Linked DNA regions of Homo sapiens: all the other regions are linked to region 1. Evidence: promoter capture Hi-C in human tissues and cell types (Jung and others, 2019). All regions are on one chromosome and are shown on one strand. The core of a region is centred on a gene start or on the middle of the fragment in contact, and the rest is flanking DNA. Distances in the headings are between cores, read along the strand shown.

The links. The method cuts DNA at HindIII sites, captures the fragments that hold promoters and counts their contacts. A contact is called where the count stands out against the background at its distance.
Region 2: a contact is called between a fragment that was not itself captured here and the fragment with the promoter of LUC7L in region 1, in 1 of the 25 tissues and cell types used here (dorsolateral prefrontal cortex).
Region 3: a contact is called between the fragment with the promoter of RAB40C here and the fragment with the promoter of LUC7L in region 1, in 1 of the 25 tissues and cell types used here (dorsolateral prefrontal cortex).

What each region holds. Positions count from the first base shown.
Region 1 is chr16:227,501-231,255 of GRCh38, forward strand. It overlaps LUC7L (LUC7 like), which reads right to left and starts at 1,949. Exons shown (of 10, transcript NM_201412.3): 1 at 1,779-1,949. The coding sequence starts at 1,839. It also overlaps the pseudogene C4orf46P1. RefSeq lists a silencer at 1,563-1,792 and an enhancer at 1,625-2,321. The HindIII fragment of the contact is 19,974 bases long and covers 1-3,755 here.
Region 2 is chr16:622,747-626,501 of GRCh38, forward strand. It overlaps RAB40C (RAB40C, member RAS oncogene family), which reads left to right. Exons shown (of 6, transcript NM_021168.5): 4 at 2,686-2,763; 5 at 3,153-3,375. Among named protein-coding and RNA genes, the nearest start is that of WFIKKN1, 6.4 kb to the right of the region's middle. The HindIII fragment of the contact is 6,315 bases long and covers 1-3,755 here.
Region 3 is chr16:588,088-591,842 of GRCh38, forward strand. It overlaps RAB40C (RAB40C, member RAS oncogene family), which reads left to right and starts at 1,979. Exons shown (of 6, transcript NM_021168.5): 1 at 1,979-2,346. The coding sequence starts at 2,205. RefSeq lists enhancers at 300-499, 622-1,495 and silencers at 840-1,149, 1,470-1,529, 1,540-1,589, 1,660-1,779, 1,870-2,189. The HindIII fragment of the contact is 16,228 bases long and covers 1-3,755 here.

The DNA of each region.
Region 1 (3,755 bases), core at 699-3,198:
ATACACATTTTTTTGAGGCTAGTTATATCATGGAGAATCACACTTAATGAGATCTGACTCCATCACTGTACCAAAGAAGTCAAGGAGTCAGACGTAAACAGCTGAGCACCAAAAGGCCATTGGCTCCACATATACATGTGGCAATGAGACTGCAAAACCCAAGCTAATCAGAGGTCCATGAACCACCAAGGGTGACTTATAGAGCTGGTAATTTCCACCAACAAAAGCTACTTATTAATCTAATCTTTTTGTTATGAACAAATGCAGAGGCAGTATTTTGCCCAAAATTGAATGAAGAAGAAAGCTTTCAAACTCTATCGAAGACTGTTAAATAATCTAGATCTATTCTTCCTACGTCCCTTTCGTTCCCACCCTTAAAAAAGAGAGTTGCTACCTGGGAGTCACTTTTAACAAGACAATACCAAAAAAAGCAAAAAAGGAACTAGGTTAGTCAATACACACTGTGAGCTCCAACACATACTGTACCCATCTGCATTCTTCAAGACCTCAGCTGCAGAATTTTATGCCCGCTGTTGAAAAGTGTTAAAGGAAAAGTTTTCTTGCCCACACCTGCAGTAAGGAAGTCGGGGGAATGATACATAAAAGTAAAGGTAAAGTGGTATGTGACAAATTTTAAAGCTAGTCTGTGTATACAACACAGAGCTGTGCAACGCTAGAGGAGGAATATATTTTAGGATTTGCAAGCATCCAGGATTAATGTAGTGTCTTTTTATTGAAAATGTTTTCTTTCTAAACTACACTTTTAAAGTTACTTGTGAAAAAAAGCAAACACTTTTTTGTTATAACAGCTTAGAAATTGGTTGTGACTCACGGCTCGATGAACATGAGGCTTTCTGCAACTCCCTTGCAGATTGATGTAGGCAGGCAAAGATACACTGAACCTTTATAAATAAAATAGAGGGGCCACAATTGTTCAGTTTGTATGAAATAAAAATATGGGAAGCAATTCAAAAGCAACTCAATATACAAAGAAAGCTAAAAAGCACTTATTCACCTATGAAATAAAGTGCAAATAATCTGCACAGCCCTGAGAATGTGCCAGTGTGAACTTACAACTTCATTACTCAGCAGAAAAGAAAACACAAACCACAGCAGGTATATAGTTTTGCAAAGATGCAACCGCTTTCTCCTGTGACAACCATCATGATCTTGAGCTCCTCCCTACACAGTACAACCTACCTAACGACTGTCAAGCGCTGGCTACACAGAGGCTCTCCTGTGTGCTGGGGGGAAGGGGGCAGCTGGAAAAGTACTTGGCAGAAACCCACGTTAGAAAAGCTCAGTTTACGGTTCCCCTTGCAATGGTACAGAACCAGAGCGGGCCAGGTTTTCGAGGCCCATCCGGCTCCCTCGGGTGTAGCTTCTTCCCAAGGAGCCTCGGAAGAGTTCTGCCACCCGGCTGCCAGCGACCTGGAGCCCACGCTGATTCCAGCCCTCCGCCGACTCCACAGTTCGCGGAGGGGCACGGAGCCGCGGCGCCCGCCGGGGAGGAAGTAGCAGGACGGTACATAGGAAGGAGGCTGAAGCCCCATCCATGGCGCAGACTCCGAGAGAGGAGCCCGACCTGGACCCACGGCCGCCTCAGAGACGCACCGGCTTAGACAAAGGCCCGGCGCCTGCGGTCGGAGCGCGGGGGAGGAGGAGCGATGCCCCGCGCAGGCGCAGGCGCAGACGATCGCGGCCCCCGCCTCAGGCCGCCCGGCGGCCTCGCCTCACTCCCACCCCAGACCCTCGCCTGGTTGGCCGCTCTGACTCACCGTCCCGAGCCGTGCCCATGAGCTGGTCCAGCAGGGCCCGCATCTGCGCCTGGGCGGACATGGTAGCCGGCGGAGGCGACGGGGTCGGCCGCGACGACTTCTCTCAGGCAGGCGGTGGCAGCGGCGTCGACAAACGATGGTCGCGTCGGCCTCGAGCCCACTCGGCTCTTTCCCGCCGCGGGGGACGCCGGGAGGAAGTACGACGGCGCCGGCGCACGCCCTGCTGGGAAATGTAGTTTCTGGGGTGGGTGCTTAGGGAGGCTGAGGCTCTGAGTGGTCGCAAGTTGTCCAACGGCGGAACCAAAATCCCAACCCTGATTTTACTCTAGACCCCCAGGACCTCAAACGAGTCTCTACGGAGGGTAAACTACAATAAAATGAAATACAGTCAATCAAAAACAAGATGAATCCGTGCTTTTTCTAAGCTAGCCATGAAACCGTGAGCATATTATTTAGCTCCCCGACGCTCGTTTTTTTAAATCTGTGAAATGAGGGTTCTAAAGGTGCCCCTCATATGATTTTTGTGAAAGTTAAATAAAGCATGGAATTTTATTTATTTATTTATTTATTTATTTAGAGCGAGGGTCTTGCTCCGTCGCCCAGGCTGGAATGCAGTGGCGCGATTACCGCTCACTGCAGCCTCGACCTCCCCGGCTCCTTATCCTCCCGCCTCAGCCCGGCAAAGTATTGGGATTACTGGTGTGAACCACCACGTTTGGCCATCAGTCATGGCATTAATATTAGGTTCTATGATTACAACCTCGTGGTCGTCCTTTTGTGAGCTCATGGTCTACTGTCCCAGGGACTAAAGAAAAGGCATATGTAAGCAGTTATTTTATGTGATAATAGAATTATAGCATGCACTTATGTGTGCATAGTCTGGCATATACTTCTATTATATTAAACCTCTATTATTTATTTATTTATTTTTGAGACGGAGTTTCGCCCAGGCTAGAGTGCAATGGCGCGATCTTGGCTCTCCGCAACCTCCGCCTCCTGGGTTCAAGCGATTCTCCTGCCTCAACCTCCCAAAGTGCTGGGATTACAGGCATGAGCCACCACGCCCGGTCTTTATTTTTTATTTGTTTATTTTTTTTTTGAGACGGAGTCTTGCTCTGTCACCCAGGCTGGAATGCTGTGGCGCGATCTCGGCTCACTGTAAGCTCCGCCTCCCGGGTTGAAGCGATTCTCCTGCCTCAGTCTCCCCAGTAGCTGGAATTTCAGGCGCCCGCCACCCCCTCCGGCTAATTTTTGAATGTTAAGTAGAGACGGGGTTTCACCATGCTGGCCAGGCTGGTCTCAAAGTCTTGACCTCAAGTAGCCAGCCACCATGCCCAGCTGATTTTTGTATTTTCGGTAGACACGGTGTTGTACCGTATTGGCCAGGCTGGTCTTGAACTTCTGACCTTGTGATCTGCCTGCCTCGGCCTCCCAAAGTGCTGAGATTACAGGCGTGAGCCACCGCGCCCTGCCGTATTTTATTTATTTTTGAGACGGAGTCTCCCTCTGTCGCCCAGCCTGGAGTGCAGTGGCGCGATCTCGGCTTCCTGCATCCTCTGACTCCTGGGTTCAAGCGATTCTCTTGTCTCAGTCTCCCCAGTAGCTGGGATTACAGGCACCCGCCATCATTCCCGACTAACTTTTTTTTTGTACTTTTGCAGAGACGGGGTTCCGCCATGTTGGCCAGGCTGGTCTTAAACTCCTAACCTCAGGTGATCCGCCCACCTCAGCCTCCCAAAGTCCTCGGATTACAGCTGTGAGCCAGAACGCCAGGCCCCTGCTCTCTATTTAAAATAAATAAATAGGGTGTCCGTTGGGCTGCTCGGGTCGGATTCCGCGGTGCCAGCCCTTCCCCATGGCCGACCCTGAGAAGTTGCAGGTTTCTTCGCCGCCCCCGCCGCCTCCTTCTCCCTCCTCTTCAGACGCCTCTGCAGCATCTTACCCTGGCAGCCCAGTGAGTTTGGGCTGGCCAGTTCC
Region 2 (3,755 bases), core at 632-3,131, 400 kb after region 1:
GCCTGCCTCGGCCTCCCAAAGTGCTGGGATCGCAGGCGTGAGCCACGGCGCCTGGCCGAAGTCGCTAGTTTTTTAAAAATCAGATCAGTTTTAGAAAACAGAAGGCAGTGGAAGAGTCTGTTTGTCCCGTGCTCTGCCCCTTGAGACACGCAGCTGAGGGTGCTTAGGGTGCCGTTCGTTAGGCGGCTGCTGGTCACCGAGAGTCTCCTTTTGGTTTCTCACTCCGTGGTCATTTGGGTCCCTGCGGCCTCACTGTGACCCACGCCGGAGCAAGCCTCCGGGTCCTCCTGTGCCATCGCCCCTGCCCGTAACCCCTACTCCTCAGACATGGCCATCCCAGGAAGTGGGGGCCCGCTCAGGGCAGCAGCCGGGAGGTGTGGCCAGGGCCCCCCGCGTCACAGCACACTTGGAGCCTGAGGCAGCCCATCAGCCGGGAGGCGGGCCTTCTGCTCTCTTTCTAGAGTTTTCAGTGTCATGCGAATAGGGGTGTTTGCCACAGAAAACAGGTCAGCATCAAAAGTTACCCCTCTCCAGCCTTTTAGCATTTGTTTTATGTCCATATAAACTTCTTCAGTGTAATGTGTTGTGTGTTCATACTTTTATTTTTTAAAAATCATGCTGGGCCGGGCGCGGTGGCTCACGCCTGTCATCCCAGCACTTTGGGAGGCCGAGGTGGGCAGATCGGGAGGTCAGGAGATCAAGACCATCCTGGCTAACACGGTGAAACCCTGTCTCTACTAAAAAAAAATACAAAAAAATTAGCCGGGCATGGTGGCGGGCGCCTGTAGTCCCAGCTACTCAGGAGACTGAGGCAGGAGAATGGCGTGAACCCGGAAGCGGAGATCGTGCGGCTGCACTCCAGCCTGGGCGACAGAGTGAGACTCCGTCTCAAAAAAAAAAAAAAAAGAAATCATGCTGGGCTGGGCACAGTGGCTCACACCTCTGATCCCAGCACTTTAGGAAGTTGAGGCAGGAGGATCACTTGAGGCCAGGGGTTCAAGACCAGCCTGGGCAACATAGCAAGATCCCATCTCTAAAAAATGTTTAAAAAAACTTAGCCAGATGTGGTGGTTCACACCTGTATTCCCAGCCACTCAGGAAGCTGAGGCTCAGAATATCAGGCTGCAGTGAGCCATGATCGTGCCACTGCATGAACCCCAGCCTGGCTGACAGAGTGAGACCCTGTTTCAAAAAAAAAGAAAATGCCATCCGCAGTGCTGGGACCTGCGTTCTTACCTCACCTGGGTTGCACATCTCTCCTTGGCCAGCATGCACGCTTTTACATGCACTGCTGCTGTCTTCAGCATCTGCACGGTACATTTCACTGCCGCTTACTCAGCTGTCCCCTGAGGCTGGACATTTAATTTGTGTCTGGCTTGTCGTTGTTATCAGCGCCACTGTGACACACATCCTCAGTTACTTCTGAGTTGTGGGCTTGCCATGCGGGAGGTTGCCATGCGGGAGGTTGCCACTAGGGAGAGTGGGCTGTGTTGTACGCTTTGGTGGCCCACTCCCCAGTCTCTCCACCTCCCCCAGCAGCAAATGAGCCAGCCCCAGTCCCTGTGCCCCAACCTCCAGGGTTAACCCCTGGGTGTGCATTTGTTTATTCTGAATCTTATCATTTATCGCCCACCAGACTGACTTGGCCATCTCTGGCCTCGAAGGGTCTCCCTCAGCGAGAGGTGTCCTTCCTGAGCTGTCGCTCCATCCTGAGCAAGGCCTTCGCCCTGGGAGCTTAGTAATGTCAACCTTGTTCTAAACAGGACCTGGGGCTACACTTCAGTCTTCCAGATATCGAAAGATGGTTCTAAGAGGCTCTAAAAACCCTAATTTTCAGATGGACAGTGCCCTCTTCTTTCAGCCTCAGCCTCTTGTGTGATAGGCTCTTCCATTACGTGAAGGTTTTGTCAGCCTAGGAGTAGGGTGGATCACAGCTCATTGGCTGGATCTGGTTGCAGAATTGTAGGGTGGGAGTGGACGTTGGGGAGAGGCGGGCATAGGGGAATGGGCCTGTGATGTCACCGTTTCGCCCGACAGGGCTCTGAGTGTGAGCAGTGTGCTCCCCTGTGCTGCTGGAGAGCCATGACTGTCACTGCCGAGATATTTAGGGCAGGTGGAAACAGCCCAGAGCTGAGCTCCAAGTAATTGGTCTCTAAGGGATGTGGCAAAAAGTCCCCGTGGCAAAACCTGCTCTGCCTGGCTGGGGGAGCTTCACAGAAACTGTCCTGGAGGGACTGGCATTCTGCTCTGCAAGTTTTAGGTTGGAAAACTCAGAAATGCCCCCACTCAGCTCTGTCCCAGGTACTCCCGGGGGGATTCACTGATGGACTGGCCGAGAGGACACTTAGCTTCCACAGCTGCACGTCCCCCGGCTGCCAGAACCCCGCATCTGCCTGCCCAGGAAACTTCCACAGGCTGATGGCTCCAGGGGAGGGAGGGGAAGCGGCATTTCTGACACCATGGAAGGCGCCCACCCCCCTGCTGCAGTCCTGCCAGGTGAGGGCAGGGGTGAGGGGCAGGGCTGCACCAGCTCTGCCTGGAGGGCATGGCTCATCTGCCCATCCGCCAAGTAATAAGCATCCTTGGCCCTGCCCGGGAACTGAGGCCCCTGCACCTGAGCGTCCCTGGGCCTGGGCTGGCCATGCGTGTCAGTGACCCCTGATGACCCCCAAGTCTCTGTTGCAGGGGATCCTCTTGGTGTATGACATCACCAACCGCTGGTCCTTTGACGGCATCGACCGCTGGATCAAGGAGATCGATGAGGTAGGCCTGGGTCCGGGGAGCCCTCCCGGGGAAGGCAGGCTGGATGGAGGTACCTGGGCCCCGGGTAGGCTCTGGATTCCCGCCTGCCGCCCCTCCTGTGGCCCCGGCTCTGCACCCTGCACTGTCCCACGGCCTACGCCTGGGCATGCTGGTCACTGTGCACACGACAGTCGGGCGTGGAGCCCAGCAAGACCAGGAGCTACGGGGCCACCCGGAAGGGCTGCACTGTAGGGCCTGAGCCCTGGGGTCTGCCCACCTTGACCTCCGCCCACCTTGACCTCCCACGGCCCTCACCCCATCATAGTCCAGACAATGAGGGCGGGCCCTGCTGCGGCTGAGGGGTGGGTGGCACCCTGCGTTTGTGCGTCTGCTGAGTTCTGTGCCCCCAGCATGCACCCGGAGTCCCCCGGATCTTGGTTGGAAACCGGCTGCACCTGGCCTTCAAGCGGCAGGTCCCGACGGAGCAGGCCCGCGCGTACGCAGAGAAGAACTGCATGACCTTCTTTGAGGTCAGCCCCCTGTGCAACTTCAACGTCATCGAGTCCTTCACGGAGCTATCCCGCATCGTGCTCATGCGGCACGGCATGGAGAAGATCTGGAGGCCCAACCGAGGTGGGTGGGCGGGCGCCGGCCAGCCCTGAGGTCCCCGAACCTGGGCTGCCCTGATCACATGGAGGCTGAGGGGGGCCAGGGGCCAGTGAGGGAGGTTCAGGCAGGTCCCTTGGCAACGCGCAGTAGGGGCTCGGCCGGCGGCAGGTCAGTGACTTGGTAAGAGCAGCCTCGGGGGAGAGGCGGCAGCACTGGGGGGCACAGGAGCAGCTGATGACCCCCCCTCAGGGTGCCGCCGTGGCCGCTGCACTCTGCCATGCCTGTGGGTCCCTGGCATTGCTGGTGTGGGCAGTGTGTGCTCGCTCCTTCCTGGTTCCGGGGCTGGTCCTGCTGTCAGGGGAGCACAGGAGCCGTGCCTGCAGCTTTGTGTTGTGTCATCTGCT
Region 3 (3,755 bases), core at 729-3,228, 360 kb after region 1:
ACCGTGCCCGGCCTCAGAAAGCGTTTCTGATTTATGTTCTCAGGAAAGGAGGAGACGGCTGCTCACCACTATCCACCCCCCGCTTCCAGGCAGTCTCAGAAACCGAGGAGGAAACATCACATCTTTGGTGCTTCCCGTCCCTGGAGTGAGGGGCCTCAGGGACTTCACAGCCAGGGCTCAAGTCTGGGCACAATGACCTCTGAGCAGAAGAGGCTCTCCCTGACCCGCCAGGTTGTTTCCGGGTTAATGCCTGGGGAACTTGGCAAGGCGCCATCTCTACAAAAAATACAAAAGGTAGCCGGGCATGGTGGCGCCTGTAGTCCCAGCTACTCGGGAGGCTGAGGCTGGAGGATCGCTTGTGCCGGGGAGGTAGAGGCTGCAGTGAGCCGAGATCGCGCTACTGCACTGCAGCCTGGGCGACAAAGGGAGACCCTGTTTCAAAAAAGAAAAAACTGGTGCGTCGATGTGGTCGCCGCTTAGTCAGGCCATGTCTTCAGCTCTGGGGGACGGGAGGTCACTGGAGGTGTGGGGCTGCCCGTCCTGGCGTCCCTCTGTGTAAGCAGCACCTGCTCCCGGAGGCACAGCCCTGGTCGGGGCCCCTCTGGAGGAGGGTTCTTGCCGGGCTCTGCTCCTCGCCGGCGGGGCAGACGTGACGGGCTCCGCACCCGGTCTGGAGAGGGCTGCGCTGGGTCGGCGCTGACGTTACTGCTTTTACTTACGACTGTAACAGCGCTACTGAACGCAGAGCACGTATCACAAAGCTCACCCGTTCCGAGTGAGTAACTTCACCGAGAGAGGCAGGACCATCCCCACGACGGTAGGACCTTCTCGTCACCCCAGAAAGAACCACGTGCCCACTCAACCCCCGACCCCACGCCGGGGCCCGCGGACGCAGCCGCCTCGCTCGCCCACGCACCTGCGGCAGCCGGGCCCGGCAGGGACGAGGGCTCGGCGGCGCCCCCGGGAAGAGCGCGGTCCGGGCCCTGGGTCCCCGTCCAGGAGGCGCCGCTGCCGCAGTGAGCACGTCGGGCCGGGTCTTGAGCTCGCGCCGGCCGCGCTCCCCGCGTCCCGAGCTGTGGCGGCCGCGTCCCCGGGCGGAAGGCTCACGCTCGGTGACGCCGCGCTGTCCCAGAACCTCAGCGACTTTGCAGACTCACTGGTGACCCAACGGTGCGCCCCGCCGCCGCCGGGCGGAAGTCCCGCCCCTGCCCCGGAGAGGAAGTTCCGCCTCATCGAGCGCCGATTGGCCGCACCGCCTTAGAGAGGACGCGCCCGGGGCCACCCCGCCGCTCCCTCCGAGGGTTCTGCGGAAGCAGGCGGCACAGCCTGCGAGGGGCTTTCGTTTCCCGGACTCAGCCGCATCGCCTCGGCTCGGGCGCGCCTGCATCCTGCCGCCCGTCCGCGCGTTGAAGGGGCGGATACAAACAACGTGGACTTCCGAGCCCCTGATTGGCGAGCGTGTAGGAAAGGGGCGGGGTTAGCAGAGCCGTGATGGACATGCAAGCGACCCAATGGCGCCGGCGACGGGGCGGGCGAGGACAACGGCGTTGTGGGCCGGGGGCGGGGCGGCCGGCGGCTCTGGGATTTCTCTGGGAGGCAGCCGCAGGGAAGGGAATGATCTTGGTGAACTTATAATCGAACCAATGGTTCCGGGAAAGCAGGAGGCGAGTGGCCAATGGCGACGGCGATGAGGCAGGCGTCCGCTGTCTCCGCAACGCCGTGTGGGAAAGGCGGGGGAGGGGCGGTCATGACAGACGTGCAGACAGGCCAATGGCTGAGGGAAGGAGGGCGGCGGGCGACCTCTGGTGACTACGGGAAGGCAGGGCGGGGTGGTGAAGAGGCGGTGCGACCGGAGGTCTGGCGGCGCCGTGTGGAACGCCGTGAGGGCGGGGAAGTCGTGACGGACGGGCGGGTGGGCCAATGGGCTCGGGAGGGCGGGCGAAGGGTGGCCAATGGCGGCGGCGCGGCCGGGGGTGGGGCGGCGCGGCGGCCCTGGTGGTGCGGGAAGCGGCGGGGCGGCGGCGAGGCTGAGGTGCGCCCGGGCGCGGGCGGGGCGGGGCCGGCGCTGGGCTTCGGGCGCGCCCACTCGGCCGCCGTGGGGCGGACGCAACGGGCGCAGGTGCGGGGCGCGGGCTCTCTCACGCCGCGGCCTCACCCGGCGGTGCTTCGGCAGGCGGCCGGCGCGGGGCGCAGGCGGCGCGGCCATGGGCTCGCAGGGCAGTCCGGTGAAGAGCTACGACTACCTGCTCAAGTTCCTGCTGGTGGGCGACAGCGACGTGGGCAAGGGCGAGATCCTGGAGAGCCTGCAGGACGGCGCGGCAGAGTCCCCGTACGCCTACAGTAACGGTAAGGCCCGGCCCGCGGCGCGCGCTGCTACGCGGGGCCCGAGCCCGGCGAGCTGGGCACGGAGCTCGCCCTCGGCCCGGCCCTTCCAAGCGCCGCCGAACGTTCCCAGGAACGCCTTTGCCTGGCTTCCAGACTCGGTAGCTCGGTGGCTGCGGGGTGCCCGTGCTCCAGTCCCGAGGTGACGCCGGGGGGCAGGAGGACGGACCAGAGGGACGCGCCCAGCGGGGACGGTGCCATGGACCCGGGGTCTGGGGGACGGTGTCACGGGTCCGGGATCTCAGGGGAAGGTGTCATGGGTCCGGGATCTGGAGCCCAGGGGAAGGTGTCATGGGTCCTAGAGAAGGTGTCATGGGCCTGGGGAAGGTGTCATGGGTCTAGGATCATCTGGGGTCCGAGGGAAGGTGTCATGGGCTCGGGGGAAGGTGTCGTGGGCCGGAGGGAAGGTGTCATGGGTGCAGGATCTGGGGTCTGGGAGAAGGTGTCATAGGTCCGAGGGAAGGTGTCATGGGTCCAGGATCTGGGGTCCGGGGAAAGATGTCATGGTCCCGGTAGAAGGCGTCATGGGCCAAAAGGAAGGTGTCATGGGTCTAGGATCATCTGGGGTCCGAGGAAAGGTGTCATAGATCTGGGGGAAGGCATCATGGTCCTAAGGGAAGCTGTCATGGGTCTGGGATCATCTGGGGTCCGAGGGAAGGTGTCATAGATCTGGGGAAAGGTGTCATGGGTCTGGGATCTCAGGGGAAGGTGTCATGGGCCTAAGGGAAGGTGTCATGGTCTGGGATCTCAGGGGAAGGTGTCATGGGTCTAGGATCATCTGGGGTCTGAGGGAAGGTGTCATAGATCTGGGGGAAGGCATCATGGTCCTAAGGGAAGGTGTCATGGGTCTGGGATCATCTGGGGTCCGAGGGAAGGTGTTATAGATCTGGGGAAAGGTGTCATGGGCCCGGGGAAGGTGTCACGGACCCAGGTCTGGTGGCAGGTGCTGCTGGGCTGCTCTTGGGACCCTGTCTCGAGCGTGCACAGATGACAGGTCCTTATAGGCACGCTGTTCCCCTGAGGTATTTGCTTACTGCTGAGGGAGTCAACGCTTTGTGCTAGAAGAAAATACCTCTGTAATGAGTTACTGAACATTTGTTTTGTTTTGTTTTCTTTTCTTTTCTTTCTTTTTTTTTTTTTTGAGACGGAGTCTCACTCTGTCGCCAGGCTGGAGTGCAGTGGCACAATTTCAGCTCACTGCAACCTCCGCCTCCTGGGTTCAAGCGATTCCCCTGTCTCAGCCTCCCGAGTAGCTGGGACTACAGGTGTATGCCACCACGCCCGGCTAATTTTGTTGTGTGTATTTTAGTAGAGACGGGGTTTCAGCATGTCGGCCAGGATGGTCTCAATCTCCTGACCTCATGATCTGCCCA